7 separate regions of the Homo sapiens genome follow, and all the other regions are linked to region 2. The links are contacts of gene promoters, found by promoter capture Hi-C in blood cells and fetal thymus (Javierre and others, 2016). All regions are on one chromosome and are shown on one strand. Each heading gives the region's core, a stretch centred on a gene start or on the middle of the fragment in contact. The rest is flanking DNA. Distances are from core to core; before and after follow the strand shown. Region 1 overlaps MYO3B (myosin IIIB). Region 2 holds the start of GAD1 (glutamate decarboxylase 1). Region 3 overlaps MYO3B (myosin IIIB). Region 4 overlaps MYO3B (myosin IIIB). Region 5 overlaps MYO3B (myosin IIIB). Region 6 overlaps MYO3B (myosin IIIB). Region 7 overlaps MYO3B (myosin IIIB).

What was found. Contacts are between HindIII fragments. The CHiCAGO score rates a contact against its expected background, and 5 or more counts as called.
Region 1: a fragment that was not itself captured here is called in contact with the fragment with the promoter of GAD1 in region 2 in 14 of 17 cell types (total CD4 T cells, naive CD4 T cells, total CD8 T cells and 11 more); the score reaches 37.8 in total CD4 T cells.
Region 3: a contact is called between a fragment that was not itself captured here and the fragment with the promoter of GAD1 in region 2, in 6 of 17 cell types (naive CD4 T cells, non-activated CD4 T cells, total CD8 T cells and 3 more). The highest score is 7.4, in naive CD4 T cells.
Region 4: a fragment that was not itself captured here is called in contact with the fragment with the promoter of GAD1 in region 2 in 6 of 17 cell types (non-activated CD4 T cells, naive CD4 T cells, fetal thymus and 3 more); the score reaches 7.8 in non-activated CD4 T cells.
Region 5: a fragment that was not itself captured here is called in contact with the fragment with the promoter of GAD1 in region 2 in 3 of 17 cell types (naive CD8 T cells, fetal thymus and megakaryocytes); the score reaches 7.0 in naive CD8 T cells.
Region 6: a contact is called between a fragment that was not itself captured here and the fragment with the promoter of GAD1 in region 2, in 12 of 17 cell types (naive CD4 T cells, total CD4 T cells, total CD8 T cells and 9 more). The highest score is 15.3, in naive CD4 T cells.
Region 7: a contact is called between a fragment that was not itself captured here and the fragment with the promoter of GAD1 in region 2, in 9 of 17 cell types (fetal thymus, total CD4 T cells, megakaryocytes and 6 more). The highest score is 14.1, in fetal thymus.

What each region holds. Positions count from the first base shown.
Region 1 is chr2:170,408,522-170,411,840 of GRCh38, forward strand. All of the region lies in intron 22 of MYO3B (myosin IIIB), which reads left to right. Among named protein-coding and RNA genes, the nearest start is that of MYO3B-AS1, 59 kb to the left of the region's middle. The HindIII fragment of the contact is 1,380 bases long and covers 1,000-2,379 here.
Region 2 is chr2:170,815,237-170,818,539 of GRCh38, forward strand. It overlaps GAD1 (glutamate decarboxylase 1), which reads left to right and starts at 1,651. Exons shown (of 17, transcript NM_000817.3): 1 at 1,651-1,812; 2 at 3,293-3,303. GAD1-AS1 (GAD1 antisense RNA 1) reads right to left here. Exons shown (of 4, transcript NR_197761.1): 1 at 3,150-3,303; 2 at 2,482-2,679; 3 at 1,618-1,796; 4 at 1-1,249. RefSeq lists a silencer at 1,466-1,545 and enhancers at 1,633-1,802, 3,042-3,303. The HindIII fragment of the contact is 11,655 bases long and covers 1-3,303 here.
Region 3 is chr2:170,500,751-170,504,169 of GRCh38, forward strand. MYO3B (myosin IIIB) reads left to right here. Exons shown (of 35, transcript NM_138995.5): 28 at 1,035-1,115. Among named protein-coding and RNA genes, the nearest start is that of MYO3B-AS1, 150 kb to the left of the region's middle. The HindIII fragment of the contact is 5,344 bases long and covers 1-3,419 here.
Region 4 is chr2:170,449,290-170,452,434 of GRCh38, forward strand. All of the region lies in intron 23 of MYO3B (myosin IIIB), which reads left to right. Among named protein-coding and RNA genes, the nearest start is that of MYO3B-AS1, 100 kb to the left of the region's middle. The HindIII fragment of the contact is 1,653 bases long and covers 857-2,509 here.
Region 5 is chr2:170,311,974-170,315,243 of GRCh38, forward strand. The region is part of intron 7 of MYO3B (myosin IIIB); the gene reads left to right. Among named protein-coding and RNA genes, the nearest start is that of MYO3B-AS1, 37 kb to the right of the region's middle. The HindIII fragment of the contact is 3,561 bases long and covers 1-3,186 here.
Region 6 is chr2:170,426,973-170,430,138 of GRCh38, forward strand. All of the region lies in intron 22 of MYO3B (myosin IIIB), which reads left to right. Among named protein-coding and RNA genes, the nearest start is that of MYO3B-AS1, 78 kb to the left of the region's middle. The HindIII fragment of the contact is 1,151 bases long and covers 1,291-2,441 here.
Region 7 is chr2:170,333,537-170,336,476 of GRCh38, forward strand. It overlaps MYO3B (myosin IIIB), which reads left to right. Exons shown (of 35, transcript NM_138995.5): 8 at 1,849-1,914. It overlaps LOC124906090 (a long non-coding RNA gene), which reads right to left. Exons shown (of 4, transcript XR_007087292.1): 3 at 1,210-1,343; 4 at 392-595. Among named protein-coding and RNA genes, the nearest start is that of MYO3B-AS1, 16 kb to the right of the region's middle. The HindIII fragment of the contact is 8,589 bases long and covers 1-2,940 here.

The DNA.
Region 1 (3,319 bases), core at 440-2,939, 410 kb before region 2:
GCTGCTTTTAGCTGGGCGGCCAACTCAGCCTTCTCACAGCTCTACTCTCAAGGGCTTTGTGTTTTTTAGGCTAGGTCTGGAAATAGCAGTGGGCATGCTTTTAAGAAAAAGAGGAAGAGAAACCTTTTTATCACTGTTCATTGTTCACTATTTCCTCTTCTTTTCTTCCCACATCCCTCTTAACTGGCTGCCAGGTCTGATTTTTAGCAGCTTGCAGAGGAATGAAAAGCCTGGCTAAGAAAAAAAAAAAAGCCACAGTCTACAGCCTTTGCTTCATCTTAACTTGGAAGGAAAGTTGAAATCCGGCTCTTTTTTCAGACATGCTCCTGTAAACAGAACTAGTAGCAGTGCCCATCAGAAGGCTGCCCTCCAGCTTCCATTCCAGACCTTCCTTGGAGCAGCCGGGGTTTAATTCAATATGGAATCCCAGGAGCTCGGGGCAGGTGTGGAAAGGGCTATCTGGTGTTTCCTTACCAGAGACCCAGGGATGTAGACTCCTCATCAGGCGACTTCAGCACAGAGGTGAAGAGACAGCCATTATTGATAGGGGACATGCTCTCTGGGAAAAAAATCTATCCAAATAACTCTTCAGCTGGCATTTACATCCTCCCACAAATATTAATAACGACTTGTCAAATCTGTTCACAACTTCGGAATTTCCGATTTTTCAACCTTTGGCAAAATAAAAACCATTTAACAGCCTGGACCACTAGGGGGCGCTATGCAGAAAGTAAGGCCCTGCAGCCGGTCTCTGTTCTCCCTTGATTCACCCAACTGCGGGAGGAACAGGAACAAAGAGATAACCTCCGCCGCTGCGTCTTTTTTACCCCTCCCAAAGAGCTTTCCTCTTGTTTCTGAATCTTGTTTTGAAACTACACTCCACACCACTTGATAGAAACAAAAGTGAAAAATAAGACTAGACACAAACGTGATGTACCAATAGGCTTCCCAGTATTCCTGAGCTATATATTATGCATAGTAATTTCCTTTGAGATCCTAAGCTTGAGTATAGCTTAGGATTCTCCACATTTTGAGTATAGTTAAGAAGCCACAAACATCAAAACTTATAAGCATGATTGTGTTTTCTTTTTCTGGAATTATTTATGTAGGAATGAATTCAATCAACAAACATTTAAAGAACAGCTTCTAGTAATAAGGTACTTTTTAGGCAACGAGGGAAATATAGGAGTAAAGGTAATACGGCTTTGCCGTACACCAACTAGAACTTTCTTTTAACTTCATTTTCTATATGGAATTTTCTATACAGAATTGGGCACTAATTTATCTCCTTATGACAATAGTTGCCCTCAAACCTCGATTCTAACATGATTGTGCATCCTGTGTTGAATGTCAGAATATTACTTTTCTAAATTTTAAAACGTTCATAGTCTATATTTTTGGGGGTTATTATGTTACAGCCTTTGAAGATGGGAAACCTCACTGGACAGAAATAAGTTATGCTGTTCTTTGCCAATGCTTGTTTCAGGCATGTCCCTCTCGTGAAGGGGAAGGTGCCTATACATCTTGATGTTCCCACTAGAAGCAAGATCCCACACTATCCTGGCACTTTGGAAAAGAATATGCTAATATTTTCAATGCATAAGAAACCATTTTCTTGTCACTTTTATTTTTCCTTGCTTTAATTGTTTTATCGAAATTAAATGGAGCACTAGTTCAGTAAGCATATATATTATGGTCAATTACTTTACAAACCTCTTTTGAGGAATGAACTACAGGGAGGAAGGAAAAAGATCAAAGTTGAGGCCAGGCGCGGTGGCTCACGCCTGTAATCCCAGCACTTTGGGAGGCCGAGGCAGGCGGATCACAAGGTGGGTGGATCACGAGGTCAGGAGTTCGAGACCAGCCTGGCCAACATAGTGAAACCCCGTCTCTACTAAAAATACAAAAAATTAGCCGGGTGTGGTGGCGGGCACCTGTAATCCCAGCTACTAGGGAGTCTGGAGCAGGAGAATTGCTTGAACCCAGGAGGTGGAGGTTGCGGTGAGCCAAGACCATGCCATTGCACTCCAGCCTGGGAACAGTGCAAGACTCCGTCTCAACAAAAAAAAAGAAAAAAAAAAAAAAAAAAACTTGGGAAACCTTAGAGGCAATTAGCTCAAAGCATAAAAGGAGGTCCAGTGCTGGACTCCTCAATTTTGAAAGAGGAGAAGACGTTTGTTAGGAAGACCCCTAAGAGATGTTGGCAGTGGTCTGGCTCCTGATCTTGGTGGTGGTTACATGTATGCTTGCATTATATTTATTATGCTGTACATTTATGTTTTGCATACTTTTTTGTGTGTGCATTCTGTGTCATAGTAATGTTGGGTTTTTTTCTCCAAAAGATAGAGAAGACCCCTTAAAATACAAAGAGAAAAAAAAAGCTTGATGTGGTAGCGCATGGCTAGAGTCCCAGCTACTCAGGAGGCTGAGGCAGGAGAATCACTTGAGCCCAGGAGTTCAAGGCCGGTCTGGGCAACACAGTGACACCCCCCATCTCTGAAAAAAAATTAGAATTAAAATTGTTTAAATGCAAAGAAAAACTTTAATTTCTTTATCGAAGGATTCCTGACAGTTAACTTGAGGTTTTCTGGTAGCTAGATTGCCACTGTCCTTTGCTTTCAAAACAGCCCCAGGATCACTTTCCTGTTCTTTCAAGTTACCTCCTCTCTGGGTTGCTGGGCAGGTAACATTCCCTTCATTAGTATATATCAAAAAAAGTATAGTCATGCATAGCTTAATGATGGGGATGCATTCTGAGAAATGCATCGTTAGTTGATTTCATCGTTGTACAAACATCATAGAGTTCTTACACAAACCTAAATGATATAATCTACTATACATCTAGGCTATATGTTGTAGTCTACTGTTCTCGGGCTGTAAACCTGTACAGTATGTTACTATACTGAATGTTGTAGTTAATTGTAAGACAATGCCAAGTATTTGTGTATCTAAACATATCTAAACATAGAAAAGGTACAGTACAACTATGGTATGATAATGTTACAGGACCACCAGTTTATATGCAGTCCATTGTTGACCAAAATGTACATGGCGCATGACACTACTGGGGCTTGATTTAATTTCTTATCAAGGTTGAGAGGATCAACCTCGGTGTGTATATGTGCAATCATAATATAAAATCATAGAGAGTAATCCAGTTGGTATTTTCTTGTTTCCAGCTCCCACTTTCCAGACTATTGAAGAGATTAAAAAGCATGAGGAGTAGAATAAGGAGGCCCAAGGTCACCAGGAGACAGGGCTCCTCCCAGGTTTCTGCAGCCCCCTTCTGCTTACACCTGGCTGCATCTGGCTGTGGAGC
Region 2 (3,303 bases), core at 401-2,900:
CAGCCTGTCCAGCCCCAAGCCTCAGTGCCCGGGGCTGCAGTCACCGCGCGCCCCGCCGTTTAGGATGTTTTTTGTGTCCTTAAAAAGTGCCGGGGATTTCATCGTCAGGTGGAGACAAGGCGACAAAACAGTAGTTTCTTTAGTACCAAAGGCAACGCGATTATTTCAAACCCCACAGCGAGATCCCTCTTGCTGATCAGGCCATGTCTGCCCAGGGCGGACCCTTCGATCTCCCTTATGGAACTCTCGGTAATTTATAATATTTTTGTGTGTGTTTCCATTGTGTTGTGGTGAAAGGCGATAAGGCATTCAAAGAAAACGGACGGGCCTCCGCTGAACCAGTGAGGCCCCAGACGTGCGCATAAATAACCCCTGCGTGCTGCACCACCTGGGGAGAGGGGGAGGACCACGGTAAATACCAGTAAAGGAATCACTGCCTACACGGTGTCACCCAGACACGCACAGACATCAACATTTTTGCCCTAAAGAAAAAAACTGGGGGAGAAGAAAGGGGAGAACTTAAACTAGTGACAGGGCGGTGAGGGAAGGCATGAAGAGGCAAGCCGGCGCGTAACCGTCTGGCCAGCAGCTCCAGGTGTGGGCTCCGCTCGGGCGCTGGCGGAGAGACCCGGGAGCGCAGGGCCTCTCCGTCTCTGGGCTCTTGGCGCCCTCTGGTGGGAATTTCTCTTTCAACGCATTTTTACGGCGAGGGGCTTCTCCCAACGCAGCGGTTCTTTTAACTACGCCTAAATATTGCAAAGGGAGAATCCTTAAAGCGCGTGAAATCGAAGGGGGAGCGGGCCAGGGCAAGGGGGGCTGGTCCGCCCCTTCCGGGCACCTCTGTGCTCGGGTGCCCCATGCGCGTGCAGCGGCGCTCGTGCGTGTCATCAACCTTCAAACGTGATTAATCAGGAGGCCTTCTTTTCCCATCACCAAGGGGGCCAAAGCGAGGAGCGAGCGCATAGCAAAAGGGACGCGGGGTCCTTTTCTCTGCCGGTGGCACTGGGTAGCTGTGGCCAGGTGTGGTACTTTGATGGGGCCCAGGGCTGGATGAGGAAACTGTAATTCCTCCATGGTCTAAGAGGTCTCCCCTCATTTCTGCCTCCTTTGCGGTTACAACAATCCCAGCTCCGTAGAGAGCCAACGAGGACACGACCCAAAGCGCGCTTTCGCTCAAGGAAGCGTCGCAGGGTCACAGATCTGGGGGAACCCCGGGGAAAAGCACTGAGGCAAAACCGCCGCTCGTCTCCTACAATATATGGGAGGGGGAGGGGAAATGGGAGAGGGGAAAGGAGGGGAGGGAAGAAGAAACGCTCAGAAAGGCAGAATTCTTCGTAGGAATTATCTTTTCCCTCCTCTCACCCGACAGCCTGCCTATTTCCAAAGGAAAAAAAAAAAGCGTGTTGAGTACGTTCTGGATTACTCATAAGACCTTTTTTTTTTCCTTCCGGGCGCAAAACCGTGAGCTGGATTTATAATCGCCCTATAAAGCTCCAGAGGCGGTCAGGCACCTGCAGAGGAGCCCCGCCGCTCCGCCGACTAGCTGCCCCCGCGAGCAACGGCCTCGTGATTTCCCCGCCGATCCGGTCCCCGCCTCCCCACTCTGCCCCCGCCTACCCCGGAGCCGTGCAGCCGCCTCTCCGAATCTCTCTCTTCTCCTGGCGCTCGCGTGCGAGAGGGAACTAGCGAGAACGAGGAAGCAGCTGGAGGTGACGCCGGGCAGATTACGCCTGTCAGGGCCGAGCCGAGCGGATCGCTGGGCGCTGTGCAGAGGAAAGGCGGGAGTGCCCGGCTCGCTGTCGCAGAGCCGAGGTGGGTAAGCTAGCGACCACCTGGACTTCCCAGCGCCCAACCGTGGCTTTTCAGCCAGGTCCTCTCCTCCCGCGGCTTCTCAACCAACCCCATCCCAGCGCCGGCCACCCAACCTCCCGAAATGAGTGCTTCCTGCCCGCCCTAGTCCCTGCTCTCCACGGGTGCGCTGCGCAGGGACCCCCCCCCCCCCGCCTCCCTCGTCACTCTTCTTATCCCTGCCCTCCGGATTCACGCCCCGGGGAAGCACGGAGGCTGAGGCTCTAGTTGAAGTGGGGCAAGAGCGATTTTCCCTTGAGCTTCCATGCTGCGAGCGCCTGTCCCTCCAAAGGGCGCCTGGGCAGCAGCAGCCGAAGGCGCTACTAGGAACGGTAACCTGTTACTTTTCCAGGGGCCGTAGTCGACCCGCTGCCCGAGTTGCTGTGCGACTGCGCGCGCGGGGCTAGGAGTGAGGTCGGAGGGAGGGTGTGGAGGCGATGGCCGGTGGGCCCTTCTCTGTGGGGTCCTCGATCTACCCAGATTAGCCCGCAATCTCTCTGTCCCGGGGCCTTCGGGCGCCATCGCGCCAGCGCCGAGAGTCGAGCAGGGGCGCCGCGCAAGATCTTTGTCCGCCGCCTCCTGCGCGCTGCGCGCAAGTTCGTTTCCCCGGTGACGTTCCCCATGCTTACTTACCCCACCCTCTCTGGATCTGTACCGCGAGAAATCTGGGGTCCTCAGGGGGCTAGGTAGAGGAGAAACGCTGAAACCGGACCGAAACCTCGCCCTAGGCTTAGCGATGGCTAAAAACCGGCTGGGATAAGAGGGAGGCAAGCAACATTCCGACTCGCTGCTTTCTGGCTGTCTGGAGTGCAAGGTGACTGTGGTTCTTCTCTGGCCAAGTCCGAGGGAGAACGTAAAGATATGGGCCTTTTTCCCCCTCTCACCTTGTCTCACCAAAGTCCCTAGTCCCCGGAGCAGTTAGCCTCTTTCTTTCCAGGGAATTAGCCAGACACAACAACGGGAACCAGACACCGAACCAGACATGCCCGCCCCGTGCGCCCTCCCCCCGCTGGCCCACACGCCGGCTGCTGAGTGCCCAATGGGGCTTGTAGCGGCTCGGCTGGAAAATCGCTCACTGAGCGCTCCCCTGTGCTCCTAGCCTAGTCCCCCACACCCTTGCGTCTTGTACTGGCCTTGGACCCCCACCCCGACCCCGACCCCGCCTCGTCTCGGCGCTTCACTCCAGGTCGCGCCGATGCACCGCCAGACTCGAGAGCGGCCCAGGGCTACGCTCCCTGCGCCCCAGTACCGGAGCTAGCGCGCACGTCTCCTCCGCTGCCCCCACCCCTGCGCACCCCTACCAGGCAGGCTCGCTGCCTTTCCTCCCTCTTGTCTCTCCAGAGCCGGATCTTCAAGGGGAGCCTCCGTGCCCCCGGCTGCTCAGTCCCTCCGGTGTGCAGGACCCCGGAAGTCCTCCCCGCACAGCTCTCGCTTCTCTTTGCAGCCTGTTTCTGC
Region 3 (3,419 bases), core at 900-3,399, 310 kb before region 2:
TCTGTGGTCAGGTGTTCAGTACCAGAGTTACTAACGCCATTTCCAGAAGGCTTTTCTAGTCCAGATGGAACTTATAAACCAAGGGAAGAGGTTGCTAATCTCTTTCATGTGCCCTGCCTAGTCAGTGCCTCTTTGTTTACGTATATGTGTTATTAGTGTTACACACAACATTTAAGTTCCTGTGCAATAGACAAATGATTATGAAAGCACCAGATCTTGAACAAAGTGGATGATTTCCCTTATGCTCTCATAACCCAGAATCCTCATGTGGCTCAGTCTATTTTGGACTTCATGAGCTCACCCAGCAACTTCGAGAGTTGTGATGCTGAGACGGGAGGAACAAAGACATTATGCTCCTCGTGGGTGGCTTAATGCCCCAGTTTTGTATCTAAAGGGCTTACCACCTTTGCCCCAGAGAGTCCCTTCCTCTTTTCTCTCTTTTTCTTCACCTTTCTTCCCTGCCTTTTCCCTTCCCACTGCACATCTTTCCTCTCCCTCAGCATACCTCTCGGCACAGAATTCACTCACAGCAAATGACAGTGTTGTGCTACTTATCATTTCCCTTAACTCCGCTCTTTCTCTTCTTCAACTTTCCTGTTTATATTTTTCTCCCAAATAACAGATTTTGAAAGGGTCAGGCTATTCCAGTTCCTTTCTACCATCCCTGCCAAACCCTTCCACCTGTATCATATCCCCGAGTCTTGAAGACAGGGCTTTCTCCAGGGATTAGAATGACAGGAAACCATCTCACCTGGAGTAGGGGTCCCATGTGATTCATCAGTGGAACCCAGAGTGTTCTGGAAATCACTGCCTGAACAAAAGCAACCCCTCAGAAGCATCTTTAAAGCCAAGCTGTGAGAACAGAGAGGCCTCTCTTCTCGCCATAGATCACATACCTCTGCTTATTTTGTTCAGTGAGAAAGCAGGAGGGAGGATGAGACGGGCAATAGGCTGGAGGGGAAAACAGCTTATATCAATTCTCTGGCACGTTCTTAAATTAATGTCATTCCTAGCACATGGTTTTATATTTTTAGCCTGGAGAGGATATGATGCTCGGAGGAAATTTAAGAAAATAAGCAACAGAAGGAATGAGTCTGCTGCTCATAATCAAGCAGGTAATTAAAACATCATTTTCACAGTGTCCACTTGAAAATATTCTGTGACTAACTTCTGTGAATGTAGAAAAGCTGAAAGGTTAATAATTCAGGAGCACTGGAATGAGTCAAGAGTTCTGGGAGACAGGAGTCCTAGTGTTCTGACCCTCCTTGTGTGATAACTATGATGCTAACGGTGAGCATGAGCATTTGCTGTTTGCCACACTTGGCTAAGGATGCTCTGACTGGGTTCTCTTGTATACCTGATATTATAGAGGAGGAAACTGAGGCACTGAGAAGTGAAGGGACTTGTCCACCATCACACAGTTCATCAGTTGCAGAGCCAGCATTTGAACACAGGCCGTTTGGATAGAGTCAGCATCGCATACTGCCACCTGAACAAAACCCTTTCCCTCTCGGAGTCATATGTCCCTCGTCTGTTAAATGAGAGCGCTGGTTAAAAAGGTCCAGAAGGTGCCTTCCCATTTTGGAATTCTCTAATTATATGCAAGACCTGTTTCTTAGCATCACAGAGGAGGAATCACTCAGGGAGTTTCCCAGCAAACTGTTTCCCAAATCCAGGCTTATATGTGGCTATCATGGTCCTCTGGGCCCCATGGCATGAGCACATGGTGGCTTTTATGGCTCGGCTTGCTATTGGCAGCCTGAGAGGTGTAAGCTCTGGTTTCTGACTCATCCGTCCCCTCTCTGGCTCTTCAGTCACTCTGCTCTTCTGCAAATGGCAGTGTCCACTGTGGGTGCGGGTGCCAGGCTGGGCTCCTTCCCTCATTTGAAGCTGCATATTCCTACTCGAGGCTCTGGAAGAAACAGGCCCCTGAGCTCCAGGAGCCACAAGAAATTAGAGACAGAATGAGAGAAATAGCCAGGCTGGTAGACTCAGCAGCAGAGAGAGTGATAGGATTTCACATACAGCTGAGCTTGAAGGAAACTCTTAAATAAAACAGCTGCAACCTCTTGAAAGAAGTCCCTCCTCGGAACCTGGCTCCAAGTAAACTTCTCAGAACTCTTAGACCACTGTAGAAGCCTGATGTCTTCATTCAAAACGAAAATAGTTGGGCGGAAAGAGTGCTATTAAAATGCAAATGTTAACTTTTAACACCATCTCCTAGGAATTCTAAGCTCTACAACTTCAAAGCCCCAGGAAGAGGGATGCAATTCTTGTTACAGCTTAAGAGAGAACTCAAAGTGCATCATTTGTTCCCTACTTGCCTGCCTCCCAACACGCACACAATCTCTCATTAAAACAGGGTACCAAACTGATTTCTGATCTTGCAGTTTGGTACAAAGGCCAACATGTGTTTTAAAATTTAAACTTGCTTGAGCTTATTTATTGTTGATCCACTGAGTTCAGTATACAGGAATCATAAATCCAATTTTCCCTAAGTGAAAGTCATCTTTTGAGTGCTCCCTGTCTTGCACTCTGTTAATGCCAAGTGAATACTGCTGTAAAACAGAAATGGGTCTGCTTCATCATCATGGATCAGGATAGTAATAATTGTATCTTTTCAGTGGAGCACCTATGGGGTAGCTACCATGGAAGGATAATGTTGCTCAGCGAAACTTTAAAAAGCATGTTTCTTTAAGGGTGTCTCCCTTTTTTTTTTTTTTTTTTAGCCTTGCAAGCACCCAGCAGGACTTTAGAAAACACATTAAGGTGCCTTCCTTTTTTTTAGCCTTGCAAGCACCCAGCAGGACTTTAGAAAACACATTAAGGTGCCTTCCTTTTTTTTAGCCTTGCAAGCACCCAGCAGGACTTTAGAAAACACATTTCTTTAAGGGTGCCGTCCTTTTTTTTTTTTAGCCTTGCAAGCACCTCCCCTTTCTTAGCCTTGCAGCCAAAGTGTTCTTGCCTATCAAGTGATGTTGGGAACTTCCATTAACTGAGTCTGCAGGGGCTTAGATGGGCATGAAGGTGGCACCAACACCACCTCTGCCCTCTTAGAAGTAGTGTGGCAGCCAGAGCAAAGGCAGACAGCATCTGCCCTTTAGCCAACACCGTGGACAGGAATTGGTGCGCTGGTTTTGTGTTGGTGGTAAAGATGCATGAATAGGGTAGCAATCTTTGCAATTTTATGGGCAGTTTACTTTTACTTGGGAATATTTTCCTTATCTTTAGATTTGAAGGCATAATTGCGTTTATCTAAGAAGCAAAGCAACTCATTCCGACGTTTCTGTTTGGGGTTGTGATCTTCCCCAAACATAATCTCATTACAAGCCTCTCTTCGTCCCACTAGGACATTTCCTAGTAGAACCAGACCCAGATACAGTGGCTCCCCGCTTTAGGAGCCTGCAGGAAGTGGCTTA
Region 4 (3,145 bases), core at 433-2,932, 370 kb before region 2:
AGTTGTGCCCTGTTACAAAAGAAATGAGATTTTTATTGCAGTTATGCAAAAAACTAGACTGCCATAAGTTGAGAATACTCACAAATAGTTTCTAAATTCTGGAGGAATCAGGTAGAGAGAAAGCAATATGCTCCAAATTTCATTCATGGGAGTATACTTTACTCAATTGCTAAATGTTCTAAATAACTCAAAAAAAAAGTTTTCTTGGCTGAACACAGTGGCTCATGCCTGTAATCCCAGCACTTTGGGAGGCTGAGGTGGGCGGATCACCTGAGGTCAGGAGCTTGAGACCAGCCTGACCAACATGAAGAAACTCCATCTCTACTAAAAATACAAAATTAGCTGGGCGTGGTGGTACATGCCTGTAATCCTAGCTACTCGGGAGGCTGAGGCAGGAGAATTGCTTGAACCCAGGAGGCAGAGGCTGCGGTGAGCTGAGATCGCGCCGTTGCACTCCAGCCTGGGTGACAAGAGCAGAACTCTGTCTCAAAAAAAAAAAAGAAAAGAAAAAGAAGAAGTTTTCTTGACTCTGAAAAACAAAAGGATTCGCAATGTTTATCACATCAGCTCTCCATAAGTCCTAGAAGTTTGTTTTGTTTCCTCTATTCCAATAACACAATTTCTACATTATCAGAGACCTGCATTCAAGAGAACCCATCAGAGCCCTATATCTGATTATAAACTGCCTTCTGAAAAGGATCAAAACAAGACAACTGTCTGTGGATGACAAAAGTCTTAGGACAGCCACTATTAAAGCTACAACTGACTAGGAATTTTGGTTACTTCTGTGGCACACAACAATTTTACATAATAATTAAAAGGCTTAATATACATTAAATTATATCAGAATTATAGAAGCTTCCTATAATTTTGGAACACATACAAATAACATATTTATAAAAATACAGTCCAAAGAAAGCCAAACATCATTTCATATTTGACAGTGTTTCCTGTGTGATTTTTATATAAGAAAGCAAATACATCATTTTTGCACTTTAGGGGACCTAATATCTAAAAGATTAATTAGGTCAGAAAAAGACATACTTTATAATTTAATTTTGGAAAGTTTGTCACATATCAAAGGTTTACAACACTGGATATCACTAAATAGAATCCCAGGTCACCGTAAGTCATTCATTTAGCCAAAATGATAACCCAGAAATTTTAAAAAGGAAAAGACCTGTACTCTGATAGAGAGGAGACTCAGCTTTCTAGACAACAAGATCCTATGAAGACAGCATGAGGCCAGCTGAATCTGTCTCTTCTCTCTCCCCTCCCTTTTTTTTTTGTAGTTTACTCAAAAGGCAAACAAGATTTGTTTTCATTGTCTCTAATATTACATAAAAATCTTTTTCAAAAGAGAAAACTAAGTTTCATGTTTGCTTTAGGGCATCTTTAATGCTAAAGCTAGTTTTTAATAAAATTTTATAAATTTATGCAGTTTTAATTAGTTTGACCATAAGGTAAGATTTTCATAAACTTCTTATAACTCTTTACAATTTTCTGTTAAACAGATCAATTTTTTTAAAAGAAAACCCTGCTATTCAGACACATGGGCCCAGATTCTGGCTCCACATCAGTGTGCTTTTATTTTAATGTTTGAGCTATAGAAAAATACTAAACAATTCCCTTCAACTCTTAGCCAACTTGCTGCTTCTCACAGAACTTCCTTTATCAGATCAACCCTTCACAAACCTTTCTAACTTGCTTAAACCTTCAATTTTGTCCCTTTACTCTTTTAGTTTAAGACATTCTTTAAAACCCTCTTAACTAGACAAAATTACATTCCCTTTAACAAAAACCATATTCCCATGCCTTCTTATAATTTCCCACCAAAACCACATTCTACTTTCCTTCTATACCTTGCAACCTTGCATGTAAAACTCTTTTTCCAGTGGACTCAAGTACATGTTACACTATTAACTTTTTGCATCTTTCATTTTTGGTGAAAAGCCTGATAAGTAAATGATTTTAATATATACTAGCTGTGGAGCCTAGGACACCAGACAGAAGTACAAATAAGGTTTGATTCTTCCTAGTACAGGTAGGCGGCATGGCTTACGCCACATGTCCCTAGGCCTTATCTAGAACCTAATGACTCCAAAGTAGGTAAGTCAAACAGTTTTCAAAAGTCAAAGAAGCAGTTTATTACCTTAAAGCATTTTAACAAACCTAATATCTGACCTAATTTAGACCAAATGTTTTGACCAAATGTCTAAATTTTGAAGACATTTTTATTTTACCAGTAATCTTTAAAATTGTCTTTATTTCCGAAAGATTACTAAAGTCACATGAACAAAAACTTAAAGTTTCTATTTTTCTAACAAAATATTTGATTTAAGCCCTTATTTTTACCCCCAATTGTTCAGAGCACTTTCATATATAAACATCACACAAACAGACATGAATATACACAGAAAAGAAGATCCAGTAGTTGTCAAGATTTTCATTTGTCAATAGTTGGATTACTGGCTTCAGGGTGGAGCCCTTGGAGGAATAGGGTGAGGAAAGCTTGCAGTTTTCAGGGCCTAATAAGCAGGCACAGCTGGAAGGCAAAAACAGATCCCCAAAATTAAGGGTCCCATTTTTATATCACATCCTGGATCCCCAAAAAGAGGAAAACACTATGGAAGAAGACAGTACAACGCTTTTACTGTGCATTTTATTGCAAGGCAACCCAAAGCCAATCGGCCCATTTTGTAATCAGCCCATCTACATGGGAGTCTCATCTCTCAGTGGAAGGTGGGGATGTTTGCACACCTTCCAGATGGCCAAGCATGCTTCTCTAATCCAAGCATGCAAAGAGCCAAGTATCCCTCCATAACAGCCAATATCCCTTAAAGTTGCTATACACCAAGGCTAAAGGCTTTCCCATAATGCAAAGTAATTTCTGATACCCCCAAAAGTAAAAAAAAAAAGGTTCAGGTAACATAACGTAAAACCAAACAAAGCCTTAGATTTTGAGAGAGATCTATTCACTTTCAATTCCTGGGGTTCCATGAGGAAAACAGGTTTTTTCCAGAATGGGGTCTGTGGTGCCACCTCTGTTTTTCCCCAGGAGTCCAGGCTTTTGAAATTCTTAGGTTCTCTCATGTGGGCATCAAGAGCAACAAAAAGACAAAATGGAGAAAAATAATTCCGTCAA
Region 5 (3,270 bases), core at 156-2,655, 500 kb before region 2:
CGGTAATCACACTACTTTGATTGCTGTTGCTTTGTAGTAGGTGTTGAAATAAGAAAGTGTGAGTGCTCTTTTCTTATTTTTCAATATTGCTTTTCGCACGGGGTAACTTTTTATTTGCTCCTGACTATGTCTTATTTCTTTGCACAACCTCTTCTACCACTCACAGAACCAAGTGTCCTAAGATGCACGTTTCTTCAAGGTTTCATCTTTTCTCACAGTCACAAATGTGTCTAGACTACAGTTCAGGTTTGTTGTGATTTCATGATATGACTACTTTAAGACTGGTCTGGGACAGGGTAAATTGATAGAAGGGAGCTGAAATGTGACATGAGCATCCTTCTCTGACTCATCCAGACAGCGTTTACTTAATGGTCCATTTACTTATCTATGAGCACTGAGTGTGAGAATGGCTCCCCTAATATTTAGTACAGCTCCTGGCTTTTAGTAGGGGATGACTGTGCCTATTTAGTGTATTGCTGAACAAAGAAATCCCTGACTAAATGTGAGTAGATGTCATGTCATTGCCTAGGCAAGGGTTCTGACCCCATTGACAAAGGACTTGCTGGTGGTGTTAATAAACCAGTTCTTAAATTGTGATCTAAGTTTGATCTGAACCAAGAGGCAAATGCCATCAAAGTGAATCCTGCGTGGAAGGCTGGTGGGAAGGAATAGAAATGTTTATTTTGCAATTAGCTAAGGATAAGGGACACTTTTCTGATTATTTTGCTTGGTAGCTCTGCAGACCACTGTTCTAACCACATTCACTGAGGGTTAGAGGCCAGTTGAAATCACTTCCGTTTGGTATCCAGGGAAATCACACCTACGTACAATTTTGGGGGCATGTTTCCCTACAATTATTGTTTGAATTCTGGTTACACTTAAAGCTGATGAGTTTCTTGGTGCCTTCTATGGAGTGCTGATTTTCACCTACATACCTGCAAATGTTTCTAAGTTACACATAGAGGAACTATTTATATTTCATTTGTGATATAATCATGGTGTTTTATTTTCTTAACCATTATGGAATTGAAGGACCTAGACAACTGGGTATCTGTTTTAGACAAATGTAATAAATGCATTAGCATTGCCCCTTCTTCTACTCCCAGTAATTGGCATTCCTGCTTTCTAAATTTGTGATTTTTTTGACTGTAATAAGAAATAAAATATTGCACTGTTTGGCACTTTGAAGTTGGCCTGCCTGGGTTGTTCACCTTAATACTTAACATCCTTGAGATAGTTATTTCACCTTTCTCAACTTCGTTTTCCCCCTCTGTAAAATAAGGGTTATGACCTTTCCCTTGAAGGGGAGTAATATGGATTATGTGAGGCATGTAGATAACATGTATGGCCAAGTGCCAAACATAGTGCTCAGTAAGTACATGAAAGCTCCCCATATACATACTAAAAAAAATAAATAAATAAAGGTTAGGGGTTGGGGTTAACCTTAGAAAAATGATTCCAGATGAAGAGAGGGAAAAACCTACAGCTGAGCCCATCTTCAGGGCCAGCCTTGGTCTATGTCTAATCTTGCTGCTCTCTGATCCAGTGATAGCATCTCTGCACTTGAACACTCAAAATGTTCCTGAAAGGGACCTACATTATTCAGATATGCAGCCAGCCACCTGGACCCTAGAATCAGTTTTAATGTCAGCAAGCATGATCTCTTCAAAATGCTCCTTTGAGAATATCCTGAATTCATTTAGTATTGTTTCCCCCTCTTCTGACAGGGCCTCTCTTCCTCTTTCCACGCCCACCTCTTGGCCACCCTCTCATCCCAGCAGCTGCAGGCAAGATTTCTCTCCAGCTGTCCATCAAGTCTTCAAAAGCCAGCCGGAATGTAATTGTAATCTATTTTCCACCCCTCAATAGTAGCGGGTGAAACACACACACAGACACACACACACAGCTCAAAATTGCAAGGAGAAGGGAGCCAGAGCTACCTCATGACTCACACACAGCCCTGCATGGATAATTACTGCCATTCATTACTGGCCCAGGAAAGAAAACAAGGGTCCAATTGGGTTTTCGTGAACCACAAGGCTGACAAGTAAGAGGGGGAAAGAAGGGGACTGTGCTCCCTCCCTACAGCCCCCCTGCCAATGCCATTTTCAGAAAAGTAACATCCTGCTGGCCTTCTATTCCTGGCGCACATCTTTTATTATGTTTATTTAGTGTGCAGTTTAGAATTGATACTGTGGCCAAATTCTGCCAAGCACCTCTCCCCAGAAGGACCTTGAGCCAGGTCCTTCTTTGCCTATTTTGCCTATTTTCCTGTATGAGGGCAAAATAGGCTCCGTTTCATTAATTCATGTATATGTTCAACCAACAGTTTGCATGAATTCACAGAAAAGAGCTAGATTCTGTAGGAAATGTCCAAGCTGCATTCATCTCAATGAAGTGTGTGTGATTTGCTACCCACTGTAACCCCTGCCTAGTAACATCTCTTGCAGCCATACTAGGGTGCCATGTGCTGGCTCATCCCACTGAAAGCATTCTGTCCCTCCTCTGAATTCCCTTGGTTGTGCTCTCATCTTATCACCTTTCATTAGATCTTTAATTGTTGTGGACAGAAAACATCACTAAGAAAGGGGTAGTATATACAAAAATACATCTAATCAGCTTTCAGCAGTTTTTTATATTATTGGTGGGAAATTCAATTAAACTGTATTGAATGAATGAATGATCAAATAAAGAACTATGTATTTTAAACTAAATGTTTTGTGATGGCTATGGGGAGAGGCAAGTCCTAATGAAACAATAAGATTTGGGTTAGTTGGCAGAGATGGAAAGTCCTTCTAGAATGGGAAGTGTTGGAAGAAAAGCATCTTGTGCTGGTGCTGGGAGTGAATCTCTAGAATTAGAATACATAGAAGACTACGCTACAGCTGTATTACTCAATGTTGTATTTCTTACTCAGCATTACTCAGTTTTGTGCCCACTATGCTACTCAAGACTGGTCCATCAGTATCCACGTATTTCATTTGGCAACAGTCATTCTTGGCAGGAGCTCATTAAGTGTATGGACTTTGTACTGGGTGATTACGGACCCAATTGACATTTTTAGGACTATCAAGTTTTGCTTCAAATTACAGGCATCCTGTTGTTCTTAATGTTTTATTCTGTTGGTTTATGATTCTCACAAATCAGCACACAATTCCCTATTTCTTTCGCTTCTGAAAAGACTGAAGCTTTAGGAATTAGAAGCAGCATTTAACTTATGATTCCTGAGAGTCTGCATTATTTTGCAGACTGATTGACTGATTTCTCAGA
Region 6 (3,166 bases), core at 616-3,115, 390 kb before region 2:
GCGCCATTGCACTCTAGCCTGGGTGATAGTGCGAGACTCAGTCTCAAAAAAAAAAAGAAAAGAAATAGATACTTAGTACCTGGCTTCAAAGAGGTTGTAACATCTATAAGGAGCCAAATCATTTCTAAAGATTAATACTAATATAAGATAGCATATTTGCATTGAGTTTAAAGGACTCAGACACAATTGTACTGACTACCTGCAACCTCTAGAATTAGTGTAGAGTTGTGATGCTTGTAGAGTTCCTTCATCAGATAAATAATCTTTGTTGGCCTTTATTCTCAATAGGTTTCACTCTTTCAAAAAAAAATCAGTAATTGCATCGCAAGTCTGTCAGATAATACTTTAATTTAGAAAGTCTTTTTGAAATCAGTTAGTTTGGATAATACAGCATTACAGTTCCATAAAGCCAAGGTCTCCAAAAATCAATGCCTGTGCTTAAGAATGTAAGTTACATTAACTTCATTCTTTAACACCATGAAACATATAAATTTCAATGGAAGAAGTGTTTCTGGGCACTGGCGTTTTATGAACGGGTTATACATATATCTATAAGAAATGTGTGTGCATGGGTGTTCAGAAACATTATAACAATGTAGTTTAGATATGAGTAATGCTGGCCAATTGGGCACATGCAAGTTTGGTTTCCTGTGGAATACTACCTATTTCAGTATGCCTCTCCTTATTTTCTGGATTCTTAAGTTGCTATAGTTTTTCCCAAGGATATATACATATACATGGATGTTTATACTAGGTTCTTTTATAAAAGAGCTAGTGACATGGAATAGTCATTCTTTAAAATATAACAAAAATAACTGGTAAATGTGAAAATTAGACTTGGATACCTATATATCAAAAGCTACCCTTGAGTACTTTCAGAGACCCAATAGGAAAAAAAAGCTCGTATAAGTGATTATTGCCTTCACATTAGCACCCAGTTTTTCAAAATGGCTGGTACTTGCCAATATGCAAACAGAAGCATAATGTTTTACTAGGAGAATAGATGTTATAAAGATGTTGAAAAATGAACACCTTGAATTCATTAATCTTAAAAACATTGCAGAAAGGGAGCAAAAAACTATGCCTCTGTCTCCTCTCACGTGCTAAGAAACAAGAATGATATTAAAAAATTAGAGAACTGAATAAGCTTACCTTAGCCACAATAGCAAAGTAAAGGAGGAGGAATAACTGAAGAGATCATAGCAACAGAGCCATTGCTGGTTGCCTGTGTTAGCTGTGAAGAGAACATTGGCAAATTAAATATCCAGGCCTCTGTAAAACCACTATCTAAGCTTCCTCCATTTATCTAAGCGAGGCTATCATCACCACCCACTTCTTCTGTTGCCTACTGAACTGCTAAGAAATAATACATTTTGCAGATTTTAGTTTTATTGTCTTTATTTTGTTCTTTCTTATTTCCCCCACTTCAGGGGTCTTTTAGGAGATATTTCACAACTATAGATAAAATTTCAGAGCTGGATGGAAGCCTAACAATACTTAACTTTTTTTACTCCAACTTGCATCTAGTTATTGCACTTACGTGTTTCCTTGTTGTTCAGCGTGTTGTTGATTTTTGAACAATACTGTTTACTTCCTTGATTAGCTCTCTGATTTATAGCTTAGGTAAAGCTCACACATGTCCTGGCCACAGATATCACACAATATTTTATTTTGGCACCAGGTTGACATTACACACTGTTCGTTGTAGTTCCATTTCAGAGAACAGTCCACCCCCATCTACACCACATGCCTGGCATTGATCTAGGTGAAGCTACATAGCCACAAAGGGTGTTCATTATGGACACCATGACGGAATGCCATGACACACAAGTGCAGAACCACTGATCTTCTCAAACTCCTCATTTGACATATAATACAAATGAGTCATAAAGAGTAGACATGATCTCCTTAAGTCAGTGGCAGGTGTGGGATAGGAATCCAAGTTTCTCACTTTCCAGTGTCCTTTTCATTGCTTCCATGCTAAAGAGGGAAACTCAAAAAAGCAGTTATAGTTCCAAGCACTGAATCATAATCCTGCACAATGGGAAGCTAACAGCGTCTTGTTTGCTGAAGCCCTGTGTAACTTTCTCAGGCTTAAAAACACAAGGAAGCATAGGTGTTGCGGGAAATTATATGACTGACCTACCACCAATAGATAAGGTATGTTGTGCAAATCTTCTAGGGAGGGATTTTTTAATTTGCAGTGATCAGTTGATTTGCTCCTGCCTGAGCATTTTATTTAGGATTCTATTCTTAGACTGTGGAATGTAACTTCTCTGTATGAAACTACCTGACCCATATGAGATTTTACTTAAGACTTTGGCCATATCAGCACTATTTTAACTGGAATGAGTCTCCTAGTAGCTCGTATCCAAACCATCCACCTTTGGCCACACAGATGAATGGGCATTCTACCTGAAGGCCACCTGAAGAGCAGAACAAGCTTTTGTTCCCAGTCCCACCAGTGACTTATGATACCTTAGCAAAGCCTTCTTCCCCATATTTTCTTCCCCCTAAAACTGTCCCCACAGGTGGTATTTTCACTGGAAGGGAGTGGTGAGTAACTTGTTTTTATGTTTGCAAGGGTAAAATAATAAATGTTTTAATGCTATTATTAAATGTCTAATTTTAAAATAAGAAGCCTCCTAGAAATTTGTCTTACAAGCTCTCTGGAACTCTCTGGAACCCTCAGGTTTACATTCTGTATCTGTCTTGCGCATGTCTTTCAGATAGAATACCTTCCATTTCCTGTCAAACTCATGTTAAGCTTTCACAATCTAGCTCATTCATTGACTACTCTTCAGTTTTTGTTTTCCTCATCCTCTCATGAAAACTTAGTATTCTGTCCCCTTGTGTCACTTTATTCAGAGATTTATTCTAACACTCACCAGTTTCAATCGCAATGAATTGTTTATATGTCAGCCTTTCCCCTTCCCCCCAAGAGCTTCTCTGGGCTGTCTTCTCCTTAAAACAAAGAACTGTATAGTTGGCTCTTGAACAATGTTGGTTTGAACTGTGCAGGTCCACTTATACACAGGTTTTTTTTTTTTTTTTCAAACAAATGCAGATAAAAAATACAATATTGGTTGGATGCAAAACTGCATATATGGAGGGCCAACTTTTCATATATGTGGGTTCTTCAGGGCTGAGTGCGTAGGTTTTGGTA
Region 7 (2,940 bases), core at 74-2,573, 480 kb before region 2:
CTTCTCATCTTATCCTTCCCCCCTGCTCTCTCTTCAGATCCAAAAGATCATATATAGTCTAGCCTCAACAAATTAGGTTTTTTGGACATACTATGCTTTTTTACATCCTTGTGTCTTGGTACGTATTGTTTTCTGAGCCTAAAATGGCTTCACTCTCCTTCTCTATCTTGAAAAATCCAATCTAATTTTCAGAAGCCAGCTCAAGTTTATCTTCTATAAAGTCTTTTGAGACTCCCTAGATTGAGTAAGCAGCATCTTAATTATTCTACCCACATATGGTGCTTGTGCTTCTAGTATATCACTTACCATATTATGTTCTAATCATATGGTAGGAAAATACTCGGAAAGGTTATCTGACTGAGGATTAGACTCAGCTGCATGTACCAGTGGCTTGAAGAAGATGGAAGTTTATTTCTCTCTCTTAGTAAGGAAGATTAGGGGGAAGCAGACTAGAGCTGGTCTGGCAGCTTTGCAATGTCATAATGAATCCAGTTTTCTATCTGTTTGCTTTGTCGTATTCAGCTCATAGTTTTCACTTTCAAGTTCATCTGATGTCCACAATGGCTGCTCAAGCTCTAGCCATCATACCCATGCTCTAAAAAGAAAGAAGGGGGAAGGAGAAGAATGGCATGTCTCCCCTCTTTTAAGGAGACTTTCTGGAAATACCATATAATACTTCTATTTATATATCATTGACTAGAACTTGATCACAGAACCACATCTAGCCGTAAGGAACTCAAGAAATTGTAATCTTTATTACGGCAGCAGTATGCTGAAATAAAAATTGTACTATAAGAAATGAGAAGATAATGGATATCGAGGGGCAAATTGCGATCACATTATCTGATGTATATTTATTTCTGGTAATTCTTGCTGCTTCCCATTCCTCTGCCTATTGAATCTGAGCAATCCATGGCTTTAGGAAGCAGTTAGAATCAAGGTAAAATCAAGGATCACATATGATGGCTTTAAAATTTACAGCCATAATTCATGTGTGCAGAACTGTCACTTTCTTCATTTTCTGAACTTGAGTTGCCGACAAGCCCTTATTTCCATGTATTGCTAGAAAAAAGTCTCATCAATTAAAGGTAATATAGTCACTTCTGTTTTGAAATCAGATCTCTTCGTGGTATTCAAGCAAATCAGGGCTCTTACCCCATCCCCACCCCTCTTTTTTTTTGCCCTCTCACCAAGAGGTTGTCTGCTTACCTAAAGTTCTTTCTGCCATTCTCTCATTCTCTCGGACATCCAATTATTAGGTATGGTATATGTCTGTCTCCTTCTCTACCCAGGAACTTCACGGAGTCTGGGACATTGTTTTGACTGTCTGACTTTCTCCAGTGCTTATTGCAGAAGTTGATACATAGGAGATAGTTAAAAATGTGACTATGAATTTATGAGTACACTTTAAATGCATCACATAATTAATCCAAATGGTACCATAATGATCTGAAAATCCTGTACAATTAAACGTCTATTTCACTAAAGCCCCTAGCACTATGTTTAGAGCTTTCTTATAGCACTAATAATCCTCAGCTCTGTTATAGTAGTTTGTGTGCTTGCCTCACCCCTCATTAGGGTGTCTGCTTCTTGAAGAATGTTCCTGATCTTTGTAACTTTCACAGGTCCTGAGAAGGCCAGGGACATAGTAGGTCTTCAGTCAATGAAAATGAATGACTACAGGAATAAGGGTTGGCACTTTATAATCTACCACTAAAAAATGACTCTCATATGAGAACAAACAGATTTTATTAGAGCTATTTAGAATGATATCAATAAAAACAAGTTGATATTTTGCCTTTAATGAAATTCTTCTTTCTTAAGAAAAAATTGCTGTTATTTTTTCAGAAATCCTCCACCTACTTTACTTCATCCAGAAAAATGGTGTGAAGAATTCAACCACTTTATTTCACAGTGAGTATTTCTTCCACTAAAAATTGCCCATCTAGCAAGGCCTTGAGCAGTGATTGGAGAAATCCAGGCTGTGGAATTTACTTGACACTAGAGGTTGTTATGCCTGTTAGCACGTTATGACTCGGGGTTTGTTCTAGTAAATGATAGAAGATGCCTTTGCAAGATGTGAAAAGTAAGGCGTTCCATTTGACTCTCAGTTATAATAAGTCCTTCTTATCATATGGGTCACATTTATCTGAGAACCTACTTTGTCTTAGGGCAAATATTGACAACTTGTCATGTTTAATGGGGAGAGATGAAACATCTAAAAATCTGATGCCTACATTAGGACCAAAGAGAAGACAGAAGGTAGCAGCCTCCAACAGAGTTTTTGCAGTGTGAAAGTTGGGCTTCCTCTAGGATCTGTGGCATGGGAACAAGGGTCCAGTTTCCAAGATGATAGAGGGACAAAGTAGAATCTCAGGCTTGGGGTACCAAGGTAAGGTATCCCAGCCAAGGCTCAAGGTATGAGGAACAAAATGAAGGCCAAGATGATGGTGTGACATACCTGGTAGGAGCTATGTCACTAGGCAAGTATTGCTGGGACTCAGACAGGAGCAGAATCAACAGTGAAACCAATAGTGGCTCAGTGCTGGGGTCATGGGCTTTTGGACCACACTGGTCCTAAGTCTGAGAAAGATACTCAGACTACTGGAGGAGGTTACAGGGCCCCAAGCTAGGGGCCTGGTGAATTGAGGGGACAGGAATCTAGACCAGGCATTACCAACCATACCAAGGCAGAGGAGCTTGGAAGAAGTCCTGTAGGATCTAGTATATGAAACAAGGTGTTCAGAGGTCGTGGGAGGAGAAAAGAAGTGACCAAATTAGCTGATAAATAAGAAGTGGGGAAGGGTCAACACAAATTTTTCTAATTTATGCCTCTGTGCAAACTTAGCTTTCACAAAGAAGCCAGGCAATAAAGCAAAGTGGGTCTTTTGATCATCTTCCTTAATAAATCACAATACAGATCAACAATCTCTTATCCGT